2 separate regions of the Homo sapiens genome follow, and region 1 is linked to region 2. The links are contacts of gene promoters, found by promoter capture Hi-C in human tissues and cell types (Jung and others, 2019). All regions are on one chromosome and are shown on one strand. The core of a region is centred on a gene start or on the middle of the fragment in contact, and the rest is flanking DNA. Distances in the headings are between cores, read along the strand shown.

Region 1 (4,978 bases), core at 1,924-4,423, 250 kb after region 2:
ACAGAGGCAAGGCCACACACACACTAGATCAACAGAGGGAGTGTGAGATGCAGAAGTGAGAGGCGGCAGGTGCCCCAAAGCCTCCTGACACAAGGTCACCGCTGCTGTGTGAAAGAAAATGCTAGAGAAGGCTGGGTGCAATGGCTGACGTCTGTAATCCCAGCATTTTGGAAGGCTGAGGCAGGAGGATTGCTTAAGTCCAGGGGTTTGAGACCAGCCTGGGCAACATAACAAGACCCCTAATCTATAACAAAACAACACTACAGAGAGAGAGGGCGGACCTGGCTGAGGGAGCAGCCCCAGCCTGTGGTCACTGGGACCACGGAAGGAGCCACATGCACAGGTGCTCACTTGTGAACAGCACCTACTTTCTGGGCTTCAGAGCGTGGTCCCCGGAAGAGTGCCAGTGCGTCATCTGGGAGCCCACTGCACGTGCAAACCTCACCCCACCCACTCCAGCCCTTCCCAGTCAAAATCCTCAGGGGGTTCCTGAAGTTTGAGAAACAACAGAGCTAGACTTTTTGACCAGGTACAGATTGATCACCCCAAAGCCATGGTCAATCCATGATAACTCCTCTCCCCCATGGAGATGGAGTAGGGATATGAGTGGGATACAGAGACTTCCTTCCATGGAAAGGTATGCATTTGAGCAGCATATTCATCACCGTTTGTAAAAATTAGTGACTTTTCTCTTTACAAACAAAACACCAATAAAAATGAATGAAAGAAAATTAAATTTGAAAGAGGTGCTTCCTTTTAATTTGACTTGTAATATTTTTAACTGTCAAAATTTCAACAAATAAATCTCTTTCTATACTTTTGTGTTAGTTTATAAGCTACTAAGTCATGGTCAGTTGAGTTTTTAATGCCTGAGGGAAGCTTTTATGCGTGGAGAGGAACAAATTTATTTGTGTATTTTACTTATGTTTCCAGTTTATTGAAGGTGTACATTTTATTGTTATTTTCATTTTTATTTGTTTTACTTTGTTTTGGGGGGACAGAGTCTCGCTCTGTCACCCAAACTGGAGCACAGTGGTATAATCATGGCTCATTGCAGCCTTCAACTCCTGGTCCCATGTGATGCTCCTGCCTCAGCCTCCCAAAATGGTGGGACCACAAGCATGAGCCACTGCACCCAAAGTTGTACATTTTCAAGACTAGTTTTGTTAAGTTCAACTCATACAATTTATTACTTTGCTCATAAATCTAGTATTTTTATGTTACTTTGCTCATAAATCTAGTATTTCTATCACTTGTTCTTTGATTAATGCCTGATTAGCTTATAAATTCTCTAAACATTAAATATTACTTATAAGCTTGATTAATTAAATTAGCTTAGGCTGTTTAAACTATATTAATATTAATATTCAAACATCTAACAAGGCAGATATACAAATCTAACAAAATCTTAGACACTAAGCATGTAGCACTAATAATTTAAACACTATTCACAAAACATAGCCTCAATTTATAGACCCAATTAGATTTATTTAAGCATTTAACCACCAAACTTAATCTACCTAAATACTAAACTAATATCACAAGTTTAATGTCACATGCTTTTACACTTTTCCAACACTTTAAAAAGCAGATTTTAAAATTCTATACTTTAAAGTCATTAGTGGTTAATTTTGTTACGTGAATTTTACCTCAACTAAAAGCAGATAAAACCCAAATCATCCCAGTGTTTGCAGTAGTTATTACCTAAAGCTATTAAAGTAGTTACTCCTTAAAGGTATTACAAGAGTATTAATGTACGTTCGTGTCCATCATCTTCTTTATATTTATTTTTAAGCCTCTATCCAAAGAAAGAAAGCAGAATTAGCCTCACAGTTGGGCTGAAATCAGTTGAAGATGTAGGTCTGAGGTACGGTTACAGATCGGGGTATGAGTTCCAGATTTGGAGCTGCCGTGCTGTTCCAGTATGGAGAGATGCTTGGAGCCTGGGCACTGGGTCTGGGAGTGGGGCCTGGATGTGCCTTCTACAGTCATTTCTCCCAGGCTGGCAATTATCAGTGTGGGTGGCTTCCTTTGGTCAAGTTTTTCCTGCCGAATTAACAAGATTCATAGAACTCTCACTGTTTTGTTTTGTTTTGTTTTTTGTTTTTAAATAACTCAGTGCATCTTTCATCCCTGAGTGTCCTTTAAATCTCATTACCTGATATAAATACATAAGTACAAGAAATTCGGGCTGGGAGCGGTGGCTCACGCCTGTAATCCCAGCACTTTGGGAGGCCAAGGCGGGCGGATCACGAGGTCAGGAGATCGAGACCATCCTGGCTAACACGGTGAAACCCCGTCTCTACTAAAAATACAAAAAATTATCCGGGCGTGGTGGCGGGCGCCTGTAGTCCCAGCTACTCGGGAGGCTGAGGCAGGAGAATGGCGTGAACCTGGGAGGCGGAGCTTGCAGTGAGCCGAGATCGCGCCACTGCACTCCAACTTGGGCGACAGAGCCAGACTCTGTCTCAAAAGAAAAAAAAAAAAGTACAAGAAATTCATAGCTTAATTATGAATCAAAACTTGGCTATGGTATGCACAGTGTTTTAAAAGTGGACACTTCAGAACAATTGGCTTTGGCAAAACAAAAACAACCAAAAACCAGTTGACATTTTCAGGAGCTCACATATACTTTTAGTATAACCCATATCCAGTACCATTATGGACTCAAGCTTTTCACTACATTTTTGTTTTCTTTTTGATAATCAGATGATCACAGTTTTGCCTTTTTTTCCTTTCTTTTCTTTTCTTTTTAGAGACAATGTCACTGCAGCCTTGAACACCTGGGCTCAAGGGATCCTTCCACTTCGGCTTCCCAAGTAGCTGGGACTACAGGTACGCGCCACCACACCCAGCTAATTTTTTTATTTTTTGTAGATGTGGGGTCTCGTTATGTTGTCCAGGCTGGTCTTGAATTCCTGGCCTCCAGTGACTCTCCTGCCTCAGCCTCCCAAAGAGTGGGGATCACAGGCATGAGCCACCGTGCCTGGCTGGCTTTGACTTTTTTTCTTTCTTTTTTTTTTTTTTTTTTTGAGACGGAGTCTTGCACTGTCGCCCAGGCTGGAGTGCAGTGGCGCCATCTCGGCTCACTGCAAGCTCTGCCTCCTGGGTTCACGCCATTCTCCTGCCTCAGCCTCCCGAGTAGCTGGGACTACAGGCGCCCGCCACCACACCCGGCTAATTTTTTTGTACTTTTAGTAGAGATGGGGTTTCACCGTGTTAGCCAGGATGGTTTCGATCTCCTGACCTCGTGATCCGCCCGCCTTGGCCTCCCAAAAGTGCTGGGATTACAGGTGTGAGCCACCGCACCCGGCCCAGCTTTGACTTTTTATGCTGCGTCCTTTTTCCTTTTAACACTACCTTAAACATTTTTGTTTTTTAACTTACATACTTCTAGCAAAGTCTGCTCAGGCCAACTCTGATTTTTCTTGCACCAAGGTATGGAATCAGCTATTCCCCAAGGAGCCCTGTTTCTTTGAGTGGCAAATGTTATCAGTTGAATGTTATGTCTGGGCGCTCATGGTGCGAATCACATTATCCGTGTGAGAACTAAAGGCAGGCGTCTGCTTCTAGTGCACTCCAGTGGGAGCTGGGAAATGAGTTCGTGCTGATGTGTCCAATTCAACTCCAACTCTAAGTCCTTTAAAAAAATACACCCTGTTATAAAAGGTTTTCATTTTTTTCTCCCCTTTTAAACTTCCAGCTTATTCTTCTTTTATAAAAACAACTATATATATATATTTTTTTCTACCTCCTTCCCCCCATATGTGTATTCCAATTAAAACATTAATGAACTTTTTAATGTCATAAATGGATGTATACCTACTTAGATCCCAGACACCCTGGCAAGGGCTTCAAATGTGCCATCTTCACTTTTATACTCCTTGTGTGTCTTATCAACCATCATCCTCTGGTCATTTATTGACAGTCACACAATTTCATTTCACCCAACTCTATTGAATTCATGAGACTTTGATTTCAATTTCAAACCATCGGCATGGGTTCCTGCTGTCCAGGAGCAATCACGCCTTCTGACTCTTCCCTGCGTTTGGTACTGGAGATCGGGGATGTCATTTTCTCATTGTTTCTCCCTGTTATCTTCAGGGCTCCTCTCAGACGGTCTCTGCGACCTGCTCTTCAGAGAGCTTCCGGAGGAAATATAATTAACATGCATCTAACAAAGTTAACCTTTTTAACAATTTTTATTCTTTTTTTTTTTTTTGAGACAGTCTTGCTCTGTCACCCAGGCTGGAGTGCAATGGCGCGATCTCGGCTCACCACAACCTTCGCCTCCCAGGTTCAAGCAATTCTCCTGCCTCAGCCTCCCGAATAGCTGGGATTACAGGCTCCTGCCACCATGGCTGGCTAATTTTTTTGTATTTTTAGTAGAGATGGGGTTTCACCATGTTGGCCAGGCTGGTCTCGAAATCCTGACCTCAGGTGATCCACCTGTCTCGGCCTCCCAAAGTGCTGGGATTACAGACGTGAGCCACCACGCTCAGCCACACATGGGTTTTTATAAATAAGCAGATTTCTTTTTCATAGTGCATGCAATGGAGAAAAGCAGATAACTCTATCTCCATCAGCTTGTCCCCAAAGTCCAAGCCCCTCTCCTTGTCACCCAGCACACCCTCATCTCAAGTGCTCAGCCTTTCTTGTCCTGACTCAGCTCCTACCTTCCCCACATCCCACTTCCTCCACCATGCTGCCCTGACGTAACCAGCAAACGTCCTATATCCTCGCACCTTCTGAAGAGGACACACCCTAAGAGGCCACCATGATCCCTGGCTCCTGGTGCTCACACCTCTGTGTAATGCCCTCTCCTTGAGTACATGTGCACCTGTCACTTGCTTCTAATGAACAGAATATGCAGCGGGGTTGGATGTCACACTGTGATGGAGTGATATTATGAGACTGTCTTGCTAACAGACTTGTTCTGGAGACTTTTTGCTGGCTCAGTGAAATGAGCAGCACATTG
Region 2 (4,848 bases), core at 2,349-4,848:
GAGTGAAACTCAAAAAAGTGAAAAAGAAGGCCAGACACAGTGGCTCACGCCTGTAATCCCAGCACTTTGGGAGGCTGAGGTGGGTGGATCATGAGGTCAGGAGATTGAGACCATCCTGGCTAACACAGTGAAACCCATTCTCTACTAAAAATACAAAAAATTAGCCGGGTGTGGTGGCGGGTGCCTGTAGTCTCAGCTTCTCGGGAGGCTGAGGCAGGACAATGGCGTGAACCCGGAGGGCAGAGCTTGCAGTGAGCTGAGATCGTGCCACTGCACTCAGCCTAGGCGACAGAGCGAGACTCCATCTCAAAAAAAAAAAAAAGTAAAAAAGAAGTTGTGATCATAATTACATGACCTTCATGGCAAACATATTCTACAATTAAAAACAGACACCCCGTGTCACAGAAAGATCCAGACCAAGAAACCCAAATGATGAGGAAGATAAAACTAAGGCACTGGGGAATCCTGGGTTGGGGTCTGATCTTAGATAACTGGGTCAGGCCAAGGCACCTGATGAAAGAAGCTGGGTGATCTCATCTCTTGTTCTGAGTTATTTAGTAATATATTTTTTTAAAACCACTTCAGAGGCCGGGCGTGGTGGCTCATGCCTATAATCTCAGCACTTTGGGAGGCCGAGGCAGGCAGATCACAAGGTCAGGAGTTCAAGACCAGCCTGGCCAATATGGTGAAACCCCGTCTCTACTAAAAATACAAAAACAATTGGCTGGGCGTGGTGGCAGTCTCCTGTAGTCCCAGCTACTCAGGAGGCTAAGGCAGGAGAATCGCTTGAACCCGGGAGGCGGAGGTTGCAGTGAGCCGAGATCGTGTCATTGCACTCCAGCCTGGGTGACAGAGGGAGACTGCCTCAGAAAAAAAGAAAGAAAGAAAGAAAAAACCATTTCAGAGGTAAAGTTTTTTTTTTTTTTTTTTTTTTGGAGACAGAGTCTCACTTTCACCCAGCCTGGAGTGCAGTGACACCACCTTGGCTCACTGCAACCTCTGCCTCTTGGGCTCAGGAGATCTTCCCGCCTCAGCCTCCTGAGTAGCTGGGACCACAGGCATGCACCACTATGCCCAGCTAATTTTTGCATTTTTGGTGGAGTCATGGTTTTGCCATGTTGTCCAGGCTGGTCTTGAACTCCTGAGCTCAAGTGATCTGCCTGCCTCAGTCTCCAAAAGTGCTGGAATTACAGGCATGAGCCTCCACAGCCAACCTAGAGGTGAACATTTTGATACTGGTTTTGGTTTTCCCACCCCTTAAAGGCCTAATATGAAGCTTAGGATTTGAACTAGGATGAGAGAATAGAGATGGGGTAGAACACGGGGTGAGGGAGCATGCAACTGCTCTGTAAATGAGAAAATGTATTCAAAGCACCAGGAATACCTGTGGGACCCAGTGCCTTTTAATGGACCTGGCCATCCCACAGTACACAACCAGAAATATGAACTTGTAACACAGTTCAGCTTCAGAATATATCTGCAGTCTCCAGTATTTGTCCAGACTTCCTCCAGTTTACTGTTCTGACCTGCTGTTCTTTCTTACCTGGCTGTCAGATCCACTGGGACATCTAGGAAAAAATCTGCCACCCCCTTCCCCCAAGAAAAGGTCTTGCCCTCCAGCCTCCTCCCACTATGTACAGACATAGAAAGTAGGGACAAGCCGGGCATGGTGGCTCACGCTTGTAATCCCACCTACCTGGGAGGCTGAGACACAAGATCTCGAGCCTGGGAGGCGGAGGTTGCAATGAGCCCAGATCGCACCACTGCACTCCAGAGCAAGACTCTCAAAGAAAAAAAAGAAAGAAAAAGAAAAAAGGGGCCGGGCGCAGTGGCTCACGCCTGTAATTCCAGCACTTTGGGAGGCCGAGGCGGGCAGATCAAGAGGTCAAGAGATCAAGACCATTCTGGCCAACATGGTGAAACCCCGTCTCTACTAAAAGTACAAAAATTAGCTGGGCGGCCGGGCGCCGGTGGCTCATGCCTGTAATCCCAGCACTTTGGAAGGCCGAGGCGGGTGGATCACGAGGTCAGGAGATCGAGACCATCCTGGCTAACACGGTGAAACGCCGTCTCTACTAAAAATACAAAAAATTCTCCTTGAGTGGTAGCGGGCGCTTGTAGTCCCAGCTACTCCGGAGGCTGAGGCAGGAGAATGGCTTGAGCCCGGGAGGCGGAGCTTGCAGCGAGCCGAGATCGCACCACTGCACTCCAGCCTGGGTGACAGAGCGAGACTCCGTCTCAAAAAAAAAAAAAATTAAATTAAATTAAATTAAAAATTAGCTGGGCGTGGTGGCGCTCGCCTGTAGTCTCAGCTACTCGGGAGGCTGAGGCAGGAGAACTGCTTGAACCTGGGAGGCAGAGGTTGCAGTGAGCCGAGATTGCGCCACTGCACTACAGCCTGGGCAACAGAGCGAGACTCTGTCTCAAAAAAAAATAAAAATAAAAATAAAAAAAAAAAAGATAAAAAGGAACAGCCCCTGGTCCAAAATCCCAGATAAGGTAGAATCATTTTTTTTTTTTTTTTGAAACACCAAGTGCGAGTCAGCCTGGGTTTTTAGACCTAAATCTAAAAATGTATTGAACACCTGTATGATTTCATAAATATTGCCCTGATTGACGAGGCACCCCAAAGAAAGGCAGAACTGGATTCAACATGGAAAGAAAGTATCCCAAGAAGCCAGCCATGAGAGTGACAGTCCCATCTGTGCTACAAGAGTAAGGCTACTGAGGTTGAGATGCAAGAGCTTTGTGCTGGGGGGCCACAAGACAGAGCAGATCCGGAATCCAGGCAACCTTCACTTCCAGCCTGAAGACTCTCCTACGAACTATGATAGTAAATGATGGAGAGGCCCTAGGGTTTGGGATCAAACAATTCTGGTTTGAGCACGCACCCCGCCCCACAATCCTTCCTTCTGCCATTTTACTTAATCTTGCTGAACCTGTTTTCCTCAGCCAAAAAAAAAAAAAGCTCGCATAGTGGCTGAACTAATTATGTGAAATATGTGAAATGTGCTTTGCAGCAGGTGGCTTTTAAACTATTGACCAGAAAACACATACACTGAAAAAAAAAATTTTTTTTACATTATAAGCCAGTATACACATATAAGTATATACAATTGAAACAAGAGTTTCACAAAAACTGTACTTACCTTACTACCTGGGAGTCACTTGGTATATTACTATTGTATTTAATTTTTTATATGCTGATTGCAACTCACTACATTGTTTTCACTCCTAATGGGTAGTTTTTTAAAAACACTTTTCAAAACCATGCAATTATCAGTTATTACGAAGATTAGTAAGATTCTCAGGAATGGTCTGATGGCTAGGAATCTTCATTGCCAGGGAAACAAAGGAAAAAGGTCAAGGTTATTAGGTCAAGCCCTTGGGAGCCCTGTTGCCAAGGGAACAGATCGACCCCCGTCAGGGTTGGTTTACCCACGGTCTGCAGCCCTGTGGAGAAAAGGAGTGGCCCGTGGGCCTGTCACTCACATCAGAGTTGGGAAGCCCGCCTCCAAGCCCGGAAGACCCGCCTCCTCTGTAAGGTTAAAGGAGGAAGAGGCAGAGATTGGAGGTTCAGGCAGTGACGTAACTTGCTGCCTTAGGTGGCCTTCCGCTCTGGCGGCTGTCGCGACGGGGGTTCAGGGAATATTTACTGGGCCTCTCCGCTCCCTCTGCTCTTGGAGGTGCCATGAGGTCAGTTAGCTACGTGCAGCGCGTGGCGCTGGAGTTCAGCGGGAGCCTCTTCCCGCACGCAATCTGCCTCGGAGACGTTGATAACGATACGGTAGGTGCATGCGCACCGCAAGAGACAGCCTGGATCTGTGCAGGGACGGGGCAAGGGAAGTGGAAGAGGCCGCCCGAGCGTGCCACGTGAGCGTGAGCATGCGCGCTGTGGCTAGTTTGGAGCGCTAGAGAGAAAAACTTTATTGATAGCTTCAGTGTTCGTGGTTGGTTTTGTTCCTTGGGAGGTTTTGTTTGTTTTTTGAGACAGGCTCCGTCTGTCACCCAGGCTGGAGTGCAGTGGCTTGATTTCGGCTCACCGCAACCTCTGCCTCCCGGGCTCGAGCGATTCTCCTACCTCAGCCTCCCAAGGGGCTGGGATTACAGGCGCCCGCCACCACGCCCGACTAATTTTTGTGTTTTTAGTAGAGGTGGGGTTTCACCATGTTGGCCCAAAGTGCTGGGACTACAGGCCTGAGCCATCGTGCCCAGCCCTTCTCGTTTTTTAAATAAATTACCACAGGTCAAGCAGGTAAAACAATGCCTGGCACACAGTTTAGTGCTCACTTAAGTGTTAGTGGTGGTGGTGGTGGTGTTAGTATTTTATTCTGTTTTTCTGCAAATCTTTACTGAACTGCTCATTATGCACCAAGGACTCTGCTACATTCTAGGAATTCAAAAATGAACGAGAGAGTTCCAGTCCTCAGATAGCTCATAATCAAGCTGTGTAATAGTCACCGGATAATAAAATGTAATGAGATGCATTGACTAAAGTATGGAGAGGATTCTCCGGTGGAGCATTAAAGGGAATAGTGTCTGATGCTCTTTTTTTTGCAGACTTTATCTTTTCATTTATCATCTATTTCATAGTTCTAATGCAAAGCACTGTATTGCCCCCTTCTACCCTCTGCCCTATCTTCCTACTCGGCCTCCCTGCTTCACAGTTCCTTAACTGTCCTGTACTTATTTCCCACCGCCCCCTAGTGCTGTGATGCAGAAGGTATCTTATGAGGCCTTTTTTGGCTCTACCCTCTCTGGGGAGGAAAGAGTTATTCTCATAAATTTGTGTTATGTTTTCTGGGCTTTCGTGTTTCTTCATGAACTGCCAAGCAGTCCAATTTTATG

What was found. The method cuts DNA at HindIII sites, captures the fragments that hold promoters and counts their contacts. A contact is called where the count stands out against the background at its distance.
Region 1: a fragment that was not itself captured here is called in contact with the fragment with the promoter of ITFG2 in region 2 in 1 of the 25 tissues and cell types used here (pancreas).

Annotation. Positions count from the first base shown.
Region 1 is chr12:3,056,221-3,061,198 of GRCh38, forward strand. No RefSeq gene overlaps it. Among named protein-coding and RNA genes, the nearest start is that of TSPAN9, 19 kb to the right of the region's middle. The HindIII fragment of the contact is 4,152 bases long and covers 1,098-4,978 here.
Region 2 is chr12:2,809,070-2,813,917 of GRCh38, forward strand. ITFG2 (integrin alpha FG-GAP repeat containing 2) reads left to right here and starts at 3,599. Exons shown (of 12, transcript NM_018463.4): 1 at 3,599-3,787. The coding sequence starts at 3,692. ITFG2-AS1 (ITFG2 antisense RNA 1) reads right to left here and starts at 3,855. Exons shown (of 4, transcript NR_146317.1): 1 at 3,493-3,855. RefSeq lists enhancers at 3,146-3,895, 3,626-3,875 and a silencer at 3,426-3,515. The HindIII fragment of the contact is 16,489 bases long and covers 1-4,848 here.